5 separate regions of the Homo sapiens genome follow, and regions 2, 3, 4 and 5 are each linked to region 1. The links are contacts of gene promoters, found by promoter capture Hi-C in human tissues and cell types (Jung and others, 2019). All regions are on one chromosome and are shown on one strand. Each heading gives the region's core, a stretch centred on a gene start or on the middle of the fragment in contact. The rest is flanking DNA. Distances are from core to core; before and after follow the strand shown.

The links. The method cuts DNA at HindIII sites, captures the fragments that hold promoters and counts their contacts. A contact is called where the count stands out against the background at its distance.
Region 2: a fragment that was not itself captured here is called in contact with the fragment with the promoter of MPPED1 in region 1 in 2 of the 25 tissues and cell types used here (bladder and mesendoderm cells).
Region 3: a contact is called between a fragment that was not itself captured here and the fragment with the promoter of MPPED1 in region 1, in 4 of the 25 tissues and cell types used here (IMR-90 fibroblasts, dorsolateral prefrontal cortex, lymphoblastoid cells and 1 more).
Region 4: a fragment that was not itself captured here is called in contact with the fragment with the promoter of MPPED1 in region 1 in 6 of the 25 tissues and cell types used here (H1 embryonic stem cells, IMR-90 fibroblasts, liver and 3 more).
Region 5: a fragment that was not itself captured here is called in contact with the fragment with the promoter of MPPED1 in region 1 in 3 of the 25 tissues and cell types used here (dorsolateral prefrontal cortex, neural progenitor cells and thymus).

The regions. Positions count from the first base shown.
Region 1 is chr22:43,410,590-43,413,449 of GRCh38, reverse strand. MPPED1 (metallophosphoesterase domain containing 1) reads right to left here and starts at 1,436. Exons shown (of 7, transcript NM_001044370.2): 1 at 1,292-1,436. The HindIII fragment of the contact is 18,974 bases long and covers 1-2,860 here.
Region 2 is chr22:43,292,570-43,295,429 of GRCh38, reverse strand. All of the region lies in intron 3 of SCUBE1 (signal peptide, CUB domain and EGF like domain containing 1), which reads left to right. Among named protein-coding and RNA genes, the nearest start is that of SCUBE1-AS1, 18 kb to the right of the region's middle. RefSeq lists enhancers at 1,393-1,687, 1,748-2,265. The HindIII fragment of the contact is 5,423 bases long and covers 1-2,860 here.
Region 3 is chr22:43,525,798-43,528,657 of GRCh38, reverse strand. The region is part of intron 2 of EFCAB6-AS1 (EFCAB6 antisense RNA 1); the gene reads right to left. Among named protein-coding and RNA genes, the nearest start is that of EFCAB6-AS1, 11 kb to the right of the region's middle. RefSeq lists an enhancer at 466-965. The HindIII fragment of the contact is 6,308 bases long and covers 1-2,860 here.
Region 4 is chr22:43,316,699-43,319,558 of GRCh38, reverse strand. The region is part of intron 3 of SCUBE1 (signal peptide, CUB domain and EGF like domain containing 1); the gene reads left to right. Among named protein-coding and RNA genes, the nearest start is that of SCUBE1, 25 kb to the left of the region's middle. The HindIII fragment of the contact is 7,519 bases long and covers 1-2,860 here.
Region 5 is chr22:43,337,327-43,340,186 of GRCh38, reverse strand. SCUBE1 (signal peptide, CUB domain and EGF like domain containing 1) reads left to right here. Exons shown (of 22, transcript NM_173050.5): 2 at 952-1,083. Among named protein-coding and RNA genes, the nearest start is that of SCUBE1, 4.6 kb to the left of the region's middle. The HindIII fragment of the contact is 5,295 bases long and covers 1-2,860 here.

The DNA.
Region 1 (2,860 bases), core at 187-2,686:
CTGGTGGCCTCTCCAACATCGCCCTGTGCCAGGTTTCTCACCAAGTTGGTTTAATTTTTTTTTTTTTTTTGCAAAGTCCAGTCAGATTATTGACAGTGCCTGTCTGCCTGACCCGCCCCCGCCCCCCGGCGCCGCAGATCCCTGCTAACAAGTCTCCCAGTGCCATTCAACTCCCGTGAGCCAGCTCCGCCATTCAACAGCCAGCCCACTTTTGTTCCCCCAGTTTAATTTCATAATTGTTTGCCACTTAACAAGCTCTCCTCTGGGCCATTCAATAGAGCAGGGGAAATGGGGAGGGGGAAGGCAAAGAAACTCTGGGAGGGGAGCTGGGAGCCAGGCCAGCCCAGCACTGGGGAAGAGACATCCCAGAGAGGTCAGCTGGACAGGGGTGGGGGCCAGTTCCGGAGTGGAGCCTCCTGACACCAACTGGGCCACCCAGCTTGAGCCCGGAGAGGTGGGAGGGAAAGGAGCAGGGTGAGTTCCGAAGGCCAGGCCGGGGCCTGCCAGACTCCTGGGCACATCAGTGCTCTGAATGACACGCCTCTGGCCCTGCCAGGGTGAAGGGAGACAGCATGAATTCACGCTCCCGTAACATGTCCCAGAACAAACACACAGGAGACAGAACTGCTCCTTAGTTTGGGCATTCCATGATCAACATTCCCTTTGAGGGCTGGGACCTGTCTAGGTAGCCACTGAATCCCCTGGCCGAGCACATAGCAGACAGGAATAAATATGTGTTGAGTGAGTGGATGGATGGATGGATGGATGGATGGATGGATGGGAGGGAGGGATGAATGGATGGAAGGAAATGGATGAAGTTTCCAGCAATACCTAGCAAAAGTGGCCACTCGGCCAGCGTTCGTTCCCTATCTCTTCCCCCCCAAGTGCCAGCAGGGGCTTGGCAGCGCACACAGTAGGCTCTCTACAAGCGGGGGCTGCTATTGTTACCACTATCATCATCACTGGCACTCCACCAGCCCGCTGCTTCCACCAGCTACTCCGCCAGCAGCAGCAGCGACTGGCGAGCAAGGGAAAAGTTTCGCTGACCCCGCGGCCCCAGCCGGAGTCCCGCGCCCTGGCGGAGCCCCCTCCCGCCGCCGCCCGCTAGGCAGGCGGGGCAGCTGGGGTGCCCAGCCCGCTTCCCGCACCCGGCAAAGGCGGCCAAAGTAACTTTGCGGGCGCCCCTGCGCAGCGCCGCGGGCGTCGCCCAGCGCCTGGAGAGGGTCCCGGCCGCGCCCCGCGCCCGGCCTCCCGCCCGCGCCCGCCGCGCCCCGCCCGCCTCCGGTCCTACCTGGCCCCGGGCTCCTCTTCGGCGGCCGCGGCGGCTGCGAGCAGCAGCGCGCACCGAGGGAGGCAGGGGCTCCCGGGAGGGAGGCGCGCAGGGGCGGGGGCTCCTCCGGCGGCGGCCGCCTCGCCGCGCGTCCGAGGCTGCAAGTGGGAGCCAGACTCCTCCTTCGTGGGGCGGGGGGCTCCCCGCGCCCCCTCCGCCGCCCGCCCGCGCGCCGCGAGGCTCCGAGCCTCCTTGGCTCCCCCCGCCCGCCGCCGCCCGCCTCCCCACGCCCGCCCTCCCCGCCTCTCCGCGCCCGGCCGCCGGGAGGGGCGCGCTCGCGGCCTCGGTCCCGGCCCTTGCGCCGCCACCCGCCGGGGCCCCCGCCAGGCCCGCCAGGCCTCGGCCCTCGGCCCCCGCCCGGGCTCGGAGTCCGCATCCCGCTGCGGAGGGACAGGGAGCGCGGCCGCGGGCCTGGACGCGGGAGGAGGAGCGGGGCCCGCGCTGCGGAAAAGGGAGGGGGCCGCCCCACTGCGCCCGGCGCCCCTCTTGGCGCCCGCCCCCAGCCCCGGACCGGGCCGCGCGCGGGCTGGGCAGGGAGCGGGGCGGGGGCGCTCTCACCTCCGGATCCGTGGCCTCCGCAGCGGGCACCGCGTGCAGGGGCGTGCGCGGCTCCTTCCGGGGCGCCGCAGCCTTCGCCCGAGGCCCGGACCCCCTCCTGGGGCCGCCGGGGCACCCTGCTGTGGGCCCCTCCCGCCCGGGGTCTGGAAGGTCCCCCTCCGGAGACGGAGACACTCTGACCCCAGCTCCCAGTCTGAATAGGTCGGGGTCCTCCTCCTGGGCCACCATCTCTTCCACTCGGGAGTCACAGGTCCCCAATCCCGGGCACAGCAGGTAGCCTGCAGCGGCCGGAGCCCCAACGGGATGGGTAAACAAGTCAGGAACTCAGACGGCGCGACACCCAGTGTAAAGAGGCCCTGCCTTGCTGGGAAGAGCAGAGACCATCGCCTTCAGTGTCGGGGGTCACCCTGGGGAGTTTAAGGCCCTGTGGCTTCCAGCCCCTTGCCGCGGGTGGGACGGGGATTCCAGGGCCTTGTATAGTTAGGGTGCAGATCACTCTGGCCTGGGCCTCCCAGACTGAGAGGAAGATGAAAAGGGGCTGTGGCTCCTCAGAGGCCCAAAGCCCCTCAACAAATGCTTGTAGGGTCTCCCTTCACCAACACACACATCACACAATCCCCAAGGACACCCTCTGCGGGCCCCTCAGGCCTATTCTGCCCCTGAGGACTGCTATCTGGTGTGGCTTCCTGGAGGTGGGGACAGCCCAGTTGAATGAGTGTATGCCAGGAGAGAAGGCCTGGAAAAGACATCCAGGCCGAGGGAATGCGGCATGCAAAGGCCTTGGCATGTGAGTTCATTGGGGCTAGAGACAAAGGAAAAGCAAGGGAGGGAAGATGAGGTGGCAAGGCTGGGAGTGAGGGAACAGAAGCCAGATCGGGAAGAGCCTTGGATAGACTTTATCAGGGGCAGTGGGAGCCATAGAGGGTTTTTAAGCAGGGCTGTGACTTGGTCACGTTTATCTTTTTACAGCTT
Region 2 (2,860 bases), core at 195-2,694, 120 kb after region 1:
GTAATCACTCTTGGCCTGACCCGCTGCTAGGAGCAAGGATATAAAGGAGACTCAGATCTGTCCTCACCCCAGGGCGGGGACAGGATAGGCAAGCCCTCTGGTCCAGGGCAGAGGAAGGAAGTAGTGAAGGAAGGCAGGCCTGGCCTGGAAGCCGGGGTGGAGTGAATTATGCTGGGCACCAGAAAGACTACACGGAGGAGGAGGCTGAGCACTGGGCTTTGGAGAGGTGGGCATGGAGGGGCCAGGGAGGTTTGTAAGCATCAGCACCTGGGAACCTTCGTCACTACCGCCATCGGACTTGAAGGGTCGTCATTCACAGCTGAATCCTGCGGGAGGAGAGGGAGGGCTTTGGATTCATGGGGCTTCCAGTTCTCTTTCTGCCTCTTTTAGAGCTTTGAGGAAATCTCTCTCCATCTCCAGGCCCCAGTTTTCTCACCTGAGAATCAGGGATAATAAGAATAATGCCCCCGGTGTGGAGCTGTTGTGTGGATTTATTAAGATAATGCCTGAGCTGGGGCCTCGCTGGCAGCAATTGCCGTTATTTATGGTAGTGAGGCTGGCAACCCCGCCCAGCCTCAACGCTCACCTCTGTGTGAGGGCTTGGGGGTGGGCTGGGATTCTCACACGGGGCCAGCCACACAGGACCCATCCATGCACTGACAGTCAGTTCCACGGGGCAGAGAAGGAGGAGGGCTGCACACACCACAGGCATTCCAGGAGGACTTCCTGGAGGACGCAGTCTGCAATCCCTCAAGCTCTGGGAGCACTTCCCAGGGATAAGGCCTGGGCATCGCCCACAGGCTACAGGGCAAGACAGGGGCAGAACTCAGGGAGCCTGACTCCCAGGTGTGGGTTCCCCTTTTCCATGAGGACACCTCTCATAATAGAGTGTGCCAAATGCTGGGGGACCATGGGGCGGTGTGTGCTGGGCTCACAGCACCTCTTGGAGAGGGCCAAAGTACTGTTTCTCATAGTGCCCTGCCAGGCCTGGCCAGGGCCTCCAAGTGAGCCCAGTCTGTCCTGGGCTCATGGGCGGCATCTCACAGACCCAGCTGCTGCAGTTGGATGCTCTTCAGACCTCAGTGTGGGGCCCACTTGAAGTGCTGGAGACACAGGGGTGCAAGAGGCGTGTGTGGGGCCTCAGGCCCTTCCCTAGAGATGCTGGTCATGGCCTCAAGCCACCCAAGAGATTTGGCAGCCATGATTTCCTCCCCTCCTCGGGGGCCGGGGGTGAGGCCTGTTTGGACCGCAGTGGGAAAAGGGTGCAGAGGGGCAGCCCCCTCTTCCCACCTGCTTCATCTCAGGACTTTATCACTTGGGAGTGGGGACAAGACATGTTTACATGGCCCTGCATTTGTTTCCCATTATTCATCAGCACTGGCGAGTCATTGTTCCCTAGTAGAGTAAACAGCCCTGTCCCAAGGCCCAGCCGCCCTGCCAGGTCACTGAGGGTTTGTAGATGCCTTACGTCAACCGCCCTTTGCTTCAAGCTTTCAGTGAGGTGAGGAGTGGCCAGGCCAGATGGCTGCAGATGGGCGGCGCCAGGGAGCTTCCTCGTGACAGGGATGAGGTAGCATTTCTGCACTGGGAACTCAGCATTTGAGAGTCTGTGTCTGTTTGGTTTGCTTTACAGTCGGACCTTTAATAGGGCTGGGGAAGCCAAGGCGCAGAGCAGGGAATCTGAGAACCATGAGAAGGAAGGTAACAACCGTGACATGAGAGGGGTCCGAACTGAGTCCCAGGGACAGCTGCCCATGTCCAGGTCCCATTGTTAAGTGTATGCCAGCACAGTTCTCTACAGGGTCTTATAGGCCCAGAGATGGGACTAACCCCAGGAATGCTGGGTCCTTCCCGATGCTCCTCACGGCAAGCTGCATCTGGGGCTGACGTGCACGTGCTCAAGTTGACACTGGACTCCAGCTCGTGTGAGGAGCAGCCGGCTCTTCGCAGCATTGGTCTGAGCACATGCGCTGACGCAGCCAGCTTAGCCTGGGGCCAAAGGCGCGTGTTCTGCAGCCAGACCGCAGGGCTGGGTCCCGCCTTCACTCTGGTGTGCTGTGTCACTCTACTCAAGCTACTCCAGCTCCCGGAGCCTCCGTGTCCTCATCTGTAAAATGGGGTCAATAACATGACCTGTCACCCAGGTAGCTGTGAGGATCGCGTGGGCCTGCGCCTAACACATAATAAACACTCACAGATGTTTGCTTTGTGTTGTTAGCAGGATGAGTAGGACACGGGGCCTGGCTTGGTGCTTTTCATGGTCCAGTGCAGGCTGGAGACAGACCCCAGGGGCAGACATGGCTGAGGCTTGGAGGGGAGGGAGGCGACCACTCGCCACCCCTAGGGGCTGCGCCCAGCAAAGGTGGCATGGGCACTGGGCCCCTAGGGGGTCCTAAGCAAGGCTTTGTTGAATGGAGAAAGGTGCTGAGGATAGTCCCTCTCCCTCCTCCCCAGGCTTCCCCAGTCAGAATGGTGCGATCACCTGGCTCCTCTCAGCGAGGGCCACTTCTACCATTTTAGCTGTAACCACTGGCGGCTTTTAGAGTTCAGAGCTCTGCCTGCCTCCTCTGACTGCCCACACGGCTGACATTTGAGCTTGCCAAAGAATAATGGCCTCGCTGTCGGCCTCAAAGGCAGCCGTGTGGTGTCTTAGGTGGTAAAGTGGTCTGTCGTCCATGAGTCTAAATAGGACCTGGCTCAAATCGCTCCACAGCCAAGTCCTCTCCCAGTTCAGTGCAGGTCACCAACTCTTTACCTTTTCACATCCTTTTGGTTCCAATAGTAAAAGATGTCTATGTTAAAAAGAAGTGTATCAAAAGCTCAACACCGAAGAGTGTGTGTGTGTGTGTGTGTGTGTGTG
Region 3 (2,860 bases), core at 125-2,624, 120 kb before region 1:
AGGTGCTACCACTATGTCTTGGGCACCCTCACTTGTTAGTCTGAACAAATAATCTTTGCAAGAATGATTCTTGACACTATAAAATAATTACTAATGCTAACTTTTTTTTTTACACGGAGTTTGGCTCTTTTGCCCAGGCTGGAGTGAAGTGGCGCTATCGGCTCACTGCAACCTCCGCCCCCTGGGTTCAAGCAATTCTCCTGCCTCAGCCTCCCGAGTAGCCGGGATTACAGGCACCCACCACACCCGGCTAATTTTTGTATTTTTAATAGAGACAGGGTTTCGCCATGTTGGCCAGGCTGGTCTCGAACTCCTGACCTCAGGTGACCCACCCACCTCAGCCTTCCAAAGTGCTGGGATTGCAGGCATGAGCCTCTGCGCTAACATTCTTAAAAGCTTGGACTTTCCGGAGGTTTTGTTCATGGCCCCTGCCAGGTGTCTCCTCCAGTCCAGAGCAGTTGGGGCCCTGCACCCCATTACCCAAGGACTGCTGCCTCCTTTGACCCCCCAGCTTCCTGGGTCCTGGATCAGAGGACATCTGAGCCCCCTGCTGCAGTCAGGGTGGCCATGTCTCTGCTCCTAGAGGCACAGGCACTGACCGCCCCATCGCTGTCTTGCTCAGGGATGCCAGCCAGCCTGACTCCATGAAGAGCAACTCACGCCTGAGTGAGACCCCCTGGAGCTTTGGGCCTCCCTCCGCCTTCCTGAGCCCAAGCCTAGTGGCCACTGGCCGTAACCCCCACCAGGGACAGTTCTGAGAGGGCCCTTCCTTGGAACTGACAGGTTTGACAAGAGAAGTTTGAAAATCGTCACTCCGCTTTCATGGACTGTGACTCAGCTGAGAGACTCAGGCAGCGTTTGCCACCTTCTGGAAGGTTCTCCAAGGAACTGGGGAGCAGCAGGCAGGATATGGGGTGTGGGGGGAGCACCTCCCCTCCACCTGGGCCCCAGGCCTTGCCCACCAAAACGCCCTTCCCTGCCCCTGCACAGGGTCCAAATGAGGCCACACCCTGAGGTGAGCAGATCTCTCCCTGAGTGGCAGAGCCGCGCATTGGATGGGTGTGATTGGGAGGACAGGCTCCCGCCCAGCCCGCGCAGGCCTTCTATTTCCTGGAAAATGTTTCCTGGGGTCACCTTTGTTTCCATCTGTCCTTAGTTTCCTCCTCATTTCAGGCTGGACCGCTGCAGGGGGAACGGGGTGCTCAGGCAGCCCCAAGTTCAGGGAAGGGGAAGGGGACCCTGAGTAGGCACATCAACAGGGCCATGCAGTGATTACGGGACAGAGACGCCCTGGACCCCAGCTGCTCCTCCATGTGACTTTGTACCAGGTCCCATCCCTTCAGCGTCCTCATCTGTAGAAATGGTGGGACCACACTTGTGTCACCTTTGTTGTGGGACCTGGGCCTGTGGGCAGCAGATGTTCCCATGAGAGAGGCTTCAGCCCAGAATAAGGAAGGCCTGTGAGGGCCAGGGGCACCAGCCTGAGACTCCGGCCAGAGGCAGGGCAGTGTCAGCTCCCAGTGAACACAGGCATGCCAGACTCAGGCTGAGGACAGGCCAGTGCCAGCAGTCAGTGAGCACAGGTGTGCGGGACTCAGGCCGGGACAGGGCAGTATCAGCAGCCAGTGAGCACAGGTGTGCGGGACTCAGGCTGGGACAGGGCAGTATCAGCACCCAGTGAGCACAGGTGTGCAGGACTCAGGATGGTACAGGACAGTATCAGCGCCCAGTGAGCACAGGTGTGTGGGGCTCAGGCTGGGACAGGGCAGTATCAGCGCCCAGTGAGCACAGGTGTGCGGGGCTCAGGCTGGGACAGGGCAGTGCCAGCACCCAGTAAGCACAGGTGTGTGGGACTCAAACCCAGCGCTTCACACACATCATCATTTAGACTCCTGTGAGCATCCCCATTTGACAGATGAGGAAACTGAGGTACCGGAAGTTTTCCAGAGTCTCACAGCTTGCAGGATTTGGCCCAGACAGTGAGTAACAGCCCAAGCCAGTGTCAGAGGCCCTGAAGGTGGGCGGGCAGGCTCCCCTGCAGGCAGCACCAGGACTCACTCAGCCCTGTGCCCACATCCCTGCCTCCAAGCCCTGGCTCCTGCTGGCTCCTCCTTCTGGGACTACTTCTGTTCTCATCTGCACAGCCCGCGTACTCTTCCTCTGAGGCCCAGCTCCAATCCTCCTGTAACCCCTGGGCAGAGGCTGAGCTCCCCGTTCGATGCTGTCACCGCTTGGCAGAGAGAGTCACTCCCTTCTGCACCCACTGCTGGGCCCAGACTCCACCCATAGGGTGAGAACACTGACCTGCGCCCCCAGCCTGGCACACAGCAGGTGCTTTAATGCTGGCAGGGCACAGCCTCTGGGTCCCTTTCCCAGAAGGAAAGCTGACCAGGTTCTGCAGGGAGTGCTGGCAAGTTGGGGAGCAACTCTGGTGTTGGGGGCTTCTCTGTGGATGGAGTCTGTGAGTGCTGGACTCCCCATAGCACTAGGAGGTGGCTGTGGGGTCAGACCCACATTCTCTTGGCCACATCTCCCAGCTTCTGGCAAAACAAGTTCTGGATCTTCCCATGCATGTCCCACCAGCACTGCTGGCACCACACTCTGACATAACAGTTTTAAAATGCAGTCTCCCCTGTAAAAACAAATCAGGTGACACTGAGCTTTCAATGAGCTCTGGAAAGAAGGCTTGGCATCTGCCGGCTGTTATTCCAACCCCAGAAATTGAAAGTGTGTCCCCAAATTTGCAAAGTAACCTATTAAAATCCCCACCATGATGGAGGGTTGCATGCTTAGTGGTGAGGGGCAGATGGATGCCCTGCCCATGTGCCCTGCCTCAGCATTGGAGGCCCGACCTGGGTGC
Region 4 (2,860 bases), core at 103-2,602, 94 kb after region 1:
GAGATGGAGTCTTGCTCTGTCACCCAAGCATGCAGTGGTGTAATCTCAGCTCACTGCAACCTCCACCTCCTGGGTTCAAGTGATTCTCCTGCCTCAGCCTCCCAAGTAGCTGGGATTACAGGCGTGCCACCACACCTGGCTAATTTTTGTATTTTTAGTAGAGACTGAGTTTCGCCATGGTTGCCAGGCTGGTCTCGAGCTACTGACCTTGTGATCCGCCTGCTTCGGCTTCCCAAAGTGCTGGGATAACAGGCGTGAGCCACCTTGCCCGGCCAGCCACTGCGCCTGGCCCTAATCTTCTCTTCTTATAAGGACACAGTCATATTGGAGTAGGGCCCACTCTACAAACTCCATTTTTAAGTTAATTATCTCTCTAAAGGCCCTGTCTCCAAATACAGTCACGTTTTGAGGTACTGGGTGTTGAATTCCTTCAACAAAGGAATTTTGAAGTGACACAATTTGGCCCATGATTTTATATACCTCCATCTTCTCATGGTCCAAATACATTTTTAAGCCAATTGTATAAAATTTATAAGAGGTCGGGTGTGGTGGCTCACACTTGTAATCCCAGCACTCTGGGAGGCCAAGGCGGGTGGATCACCTGAGGTCCGAAGTTCAAGACCAGCCTGACCAACATGGCAAAACCCTGTCTCTACTAAAAATACAAAAATTAGTTGGGCGCATGCCTGTAATCCCAGCTATTTGGGAGGCTGAGGTAGGAGGGTCACTTGAACCCAGGAGACGGAGGTTGCAGTGAGCCAAGATCACACCATTGCACTCCAGCCCGGGCGACAAGAGTGAAACTCCATCTCAAAAACAAAAAAATAATTACAAGAGTAGTCCACATTTGCTGAATCAAATTGGAAAAAAGGAGAAGAGTAGGGAGAAGAAATTGGCAGGCGTCTTAGTTGTGCTGGTGTGTTTTCTATCAGTCTTCCACCTGCATCCAAGTGTGTTTTTACCATAGTGGTGATCAGATAGTCAGCATGCATTTGCCCTTTGCTGTTCCCTTTAATATCATGCGTACCTCAGGCATTTTGGTTTTCTTTTGAGACAGAGTCTTACTCTGTCACCCAGCCTGGAGTACAGTATGGCTCAGTGCAGCCTTAACCTCTGGAACTCAGGTGATCCTCCCACCTCAGCCTCCAGAATAGCTGGGACCATAGGCACATTCCACTGCTACTGGCTAACTTTTGGGTTTTTTTGTAGAGACAGGGTCTTGCTATATTGCCCAGGCCTCTGGAACTCCTGGGCTCAGGTGATCTGCCCACCTCGACCTCCCAAAGTGCTGGGATTACAGGCTTGACCCGCCACCTTACCTCAGGCATTACTTCAGGTATTTTTATGTGGCCCCTGTTACCACTATTTTTCTAGTTGCCCCACAGTCTGACAAATTACTAATAACCTGTATCAGTTTCCTGGGGCTGCCATGACAAAGTAACAAACTAGGGCTTAAATAACAGAAATGGATTCTCTTGGTTAGGAGTCCAAACTCAAGGTGTGGGCAGGGTAGTTCCTTCTGAGAGCTGCAAGGGATCATCTGTTCCAGGCCTTTCTCATAGCTTCTGGTAATGTCAGGGATTCCTTGGCTTATAGATGGCATCCTCCCTCTGTCTTCACATTGTCTCAGCTCTATGTGTGTCTGGCTCTGTGTCCAAATTTTCCTTTTTTATGAGGACACCAGTCGTGTTGCATTAGGCCCACCCTAACAATCTCATCTTAACCTGGACATCTGCCAAGACCTTATTTCCAACAAAAGTCACATTCACAAGTACTGGGAGCTGCGAATCCAACATCTTTTGAAGGGACATAATTCAACCTGTAACAGAGGGAGTTCAAAGTCTGTCACAGAAGAACAATATCTTGTCATGGGAAACACGTGGCTCTCAAAGCAGACGTGTCTGTCCCCAAGGCCCTCTTTTGCCACTGGCTGCTGGGTAACCAGGGCACAGCAACTGGAGCCCAGGGGATATGGGCATGGATTTGGCAGGAGCATGTCCGTAGATACATTATTGATTGTCTGGGTCTCAGGCCCTTGTTGGTAGAGGGAGGCTATGAGAAGCAGCTTCCTCACAGGGTTGTCGTGAGCAGTGACTGAGATAATGTCCAGATGGCCGAGAAAAAGGCTCGGCACAGGGGACTCTCAGCAGCCGAGAACTGTTACTATCTACATGGTGTCTGAGCCTCAGTCTTCTCCAGTCTCCAACAGGGATAACTGCGTAATCCACTTCCCAAGATCGCGTGTGAGGATGAGGTGACAGTGTGAAGTGACTAGCCCCTATTAGGTGCTAAATAGTCAACGCAGGCATTACTACTCCAGCTGACTCGGCTGCCTTTCTGTGGTTAGACATTTAGATTGTTTGCTTTTTTGTTTTTTACCATGAGAATCCAGAGGTGGTTCTGGGCATAAAACATTTTTTTCCCCTGTTTTCCCAATCGTTTCCTTAGGAATGCTTCACAAAAGTGGAACCACTGGATCAAACGACCATTTGGTTTTTTATGGCTTTCTAAAAGGGCTCAGCAAAGCTTCTGTTGTGCCAGCTGGTTTGTGGGTGTGTGGTAGAGGATACTGGGTGTCCTGAGTGCTCTGGAACTTTCCCTCTTAATGGGGTGTTAGCCTTAGACCTGCCTGCCTGTTTTTGTCCAACCCATGTTGGATGTCAGATAAGTTTGTTGTGGAAAACATCTGTGAGCATGTAATTACACCCCGAATAAATACCCAAGTAGAGGTCCGAGCATCAGGTTATTGAAGCCCAGAGAGGCCTGTGAAGAGCTACCCATGGATGCAGTGAGTGTGGGGGTAGAAGCGGGGCTAACTCCCTAGGGGTCTTCAAAGAGAAGGTAGCATTGAGTGGAACCT
Region 5 (2,860 bases), core at 188-2,687, 73 kb after region 1:
GTGTGGGGGCGTGGAAGCCAGATGATGAATCCCGTGTTTCCACAGGCTAGGGGCAGGGTGGGATCCCACGTTCAGGTGACCTGCAGGAGCCTCCTGGCATGGCCTTGGTGTCCCCATCTGGAACCCAAAGGGACTAGATTTAAACTCCTCCAAGGACCCTTCTGGCTCTAAATTCTAGAATGAGGAGAGTGGGGGGAGGGTTGGAGCTATGCTTTGGGGGGGGTAGAATGAGGAGAGTGGGGGGAGGGTTGGAGCTATGCTTGTTGGGGGGGTAGAATGAGGAGAGTAGGGGAGGGTTGGAGTGATGCTTGTGGGGGGATAGTGAGGAGAGTAGGGGAGGGCTGGAGTGATGCTTGTGGGGGGATAGAATGAGGAGAGTGGGGGAGGGTTGAAGCAATGCTTGTGGGGGGATAGAATGAGGAGAGTGGGGGGAGGGTTGGAGCTATGCTTGTGGGGGGTAGAATGAGGAGAGTGGGGGAGGGTTGGAGCAATGCTTGTGGGGGGATAGAGTGAGGAGAATGGGGGAGGGCTGGAGTGATGCTTGTGGGGGGATAGAGTAAGGAGAGTAGGGGATAGAGTGAGGAGAGTAGGGGAGGGCTGGAGTGATGCTTGTTGGGGGAGTAGGACAGACGGAGGAGGAGGTTCTTCCTCACTGTCTCCTTAAGCCTCAGTTTTCTCATCTTTTTAGCAGAACAATAGCTCAATGGGATGGTTGCGACAATAAATAAGGCCAAGCGTATTGATAGCATTGTCCCTGCCACAGAGTAGCTGCGCCAAAGATGCTACCAGTTGCCACTTGTCACACCAGATTGTCCTGTGACAGCTGTTATTGCCAATGAGCCCACCGATCAATGGACGGGCAAAGGCAAGAGCTCCCCCTGCCCTACACTATCGGCCACCTGCCCTGGGGCCACACCTTACCTCTTATTCCCCCCACACCCCTACCCACAGGGTCAGTCGACGTGGATGAGTGCTCAGAGGGCACAGATGACTGCCACATCGATGCCATCTGTCAGAACACGCCCAAGTCCTACAAATGCCTCTGCAAGCCAGGCTACAAGGGGGAAGGCAAGCAGTGTGAAGGTGAGTCCAGCCCGGCCCTCCCGGGCAGACCCTGAGGCTGCCAGGGCTGCTGTAGGTGGCCGATGCCTGCCCCATTCATCACCAGCTGGGGCTGAGCCTCCAGCACCACCATTGTGGTTGCTGACAGCACAGGCTTCTCTCAGCCTCAGGAGGGAGGCAGTGAACTTTTCGGAAATGCCGGCTGCTTCCCTGGAAGGGTGGAGTTAGAGTCATGGGGTGCCTGATTCTCAACTGGGCTTGAAACTTTTTGTTCTTTTTAAGAAATTGGCTGGGTGCGGTGGCTCACGTCTGTAATCCCAGCACTTTGGGAGACCGAGGCAGGCAGATTACCTGAGGTCAAGAGTTTGAGACCAGCCTGGCCAACATGGCAAAACCCCATCTCTACTGAAAATACAACAAATACAAAAAAAGTTAGCCGAGCGTGGTGGTGCATGCCTATAATCTCAGCTACTCGTGAAGCTGAGGCAGGAGAATCACTTGAACCCAGGAGGCAGAGGTTGCAGTGAGCCGAGATGGCGCCACTGCACTCCAGCTTGGGCGACAGAGCAAGACTCTGTCTCAAAAAAAAAGAAAAGAAAGAAAAAGAAATTAAGATGAAGCATTGAATGAGGTATTTGTGCATCTGTCCTTGACTGGCTATATGGGGGTGGAGTGCAAAGACCTGGGCTTGCCCCCCGACCCCCAGAGTCCCTAACGTCAAGTTCAAAACCACCCTGTAGGTCTCTGTCTCAAGTTCCAGTGCTTGGACAGACACTGGTGGATTTGTGCCATCTGTCTCTCCAGCCTTTCTGCCCTGCACCTGGGGTGCTGGTTAGCCCTCCTGCTATTAAAAACTGCCTCCCCAGCAGGCTAAAAGTTAGAGAGAAAAGAGCAGCTCTGGCTGTGTTTGGTGCCAGGACTCTGCAAGCCCATTGGAACCTTTGGAGCTTTTGTCCATGAGAGTCTGCATGGCCGTCCTCACCCCATGGGTCTGGGGCAGGACTGGGCATCTGGGGGCTGGAAATAGCTCTCTCCGAGACAGACAGACACCCCTGGATGGGATCACTGATCCCAGTCTTCCCTGTCTGCACCCATCGTATAAATGAGGAAAGCTGAGGCTCAGACAGGAGAAGCATCTTTTGCAAGATTCCCATGTTCACAGTGATATGACAAGGACTGAAATCCAGGTCTTGTAACTCCCACTCAACAACTCTGGCAGCTAGTTTTCTTCTCCCTGGGCCCTGCCAGCTGAATTTTTCCAAGTTTGATATTTGTATTAGGAAAGTGACATGGGAGCACAGGATGGGTCCCTGCTCTTTCTGTATAAGGCGTTTACAGGGCTAGAGTTTTGTGGGCGATGCAGCCACTCCTCCCTGGGATGCTGGTGGTGTTTATCCTTCACATTTGTTGAGCATTTATTTAAGGCTGAGTGCTGGGCAGATGACATCGCCCTGGATCATGCCTGGTTGGGTAATATTCCTGGCACGCTCAGGGCCCAGAACCCAAAGTGGGGAGCTGGCGCCTACCCACAGACCTCTGGAAGGAGGCCAGGCTGGAGGCACACAGAGGAGGCCATGAGTGAGAAGCCTGGTGGGGCGGCTGGCCCGGCTGCTGGCAGGGCCAGAGGTTAGCTCGCTGGTTCGAGTGGTACATGTGAGGCTGGTGTGACCGCTTTCTGACCCTCTACTCTGCCTTCCAGACCCAGTGTCCCGGAAAGGCGGGGCCATGGTTGACCCCCCTATCTCTGCTGGTTTAAGCCACTGACCTGGCCTCTTCCTTCCCAAGCCCAGCTCCTCCT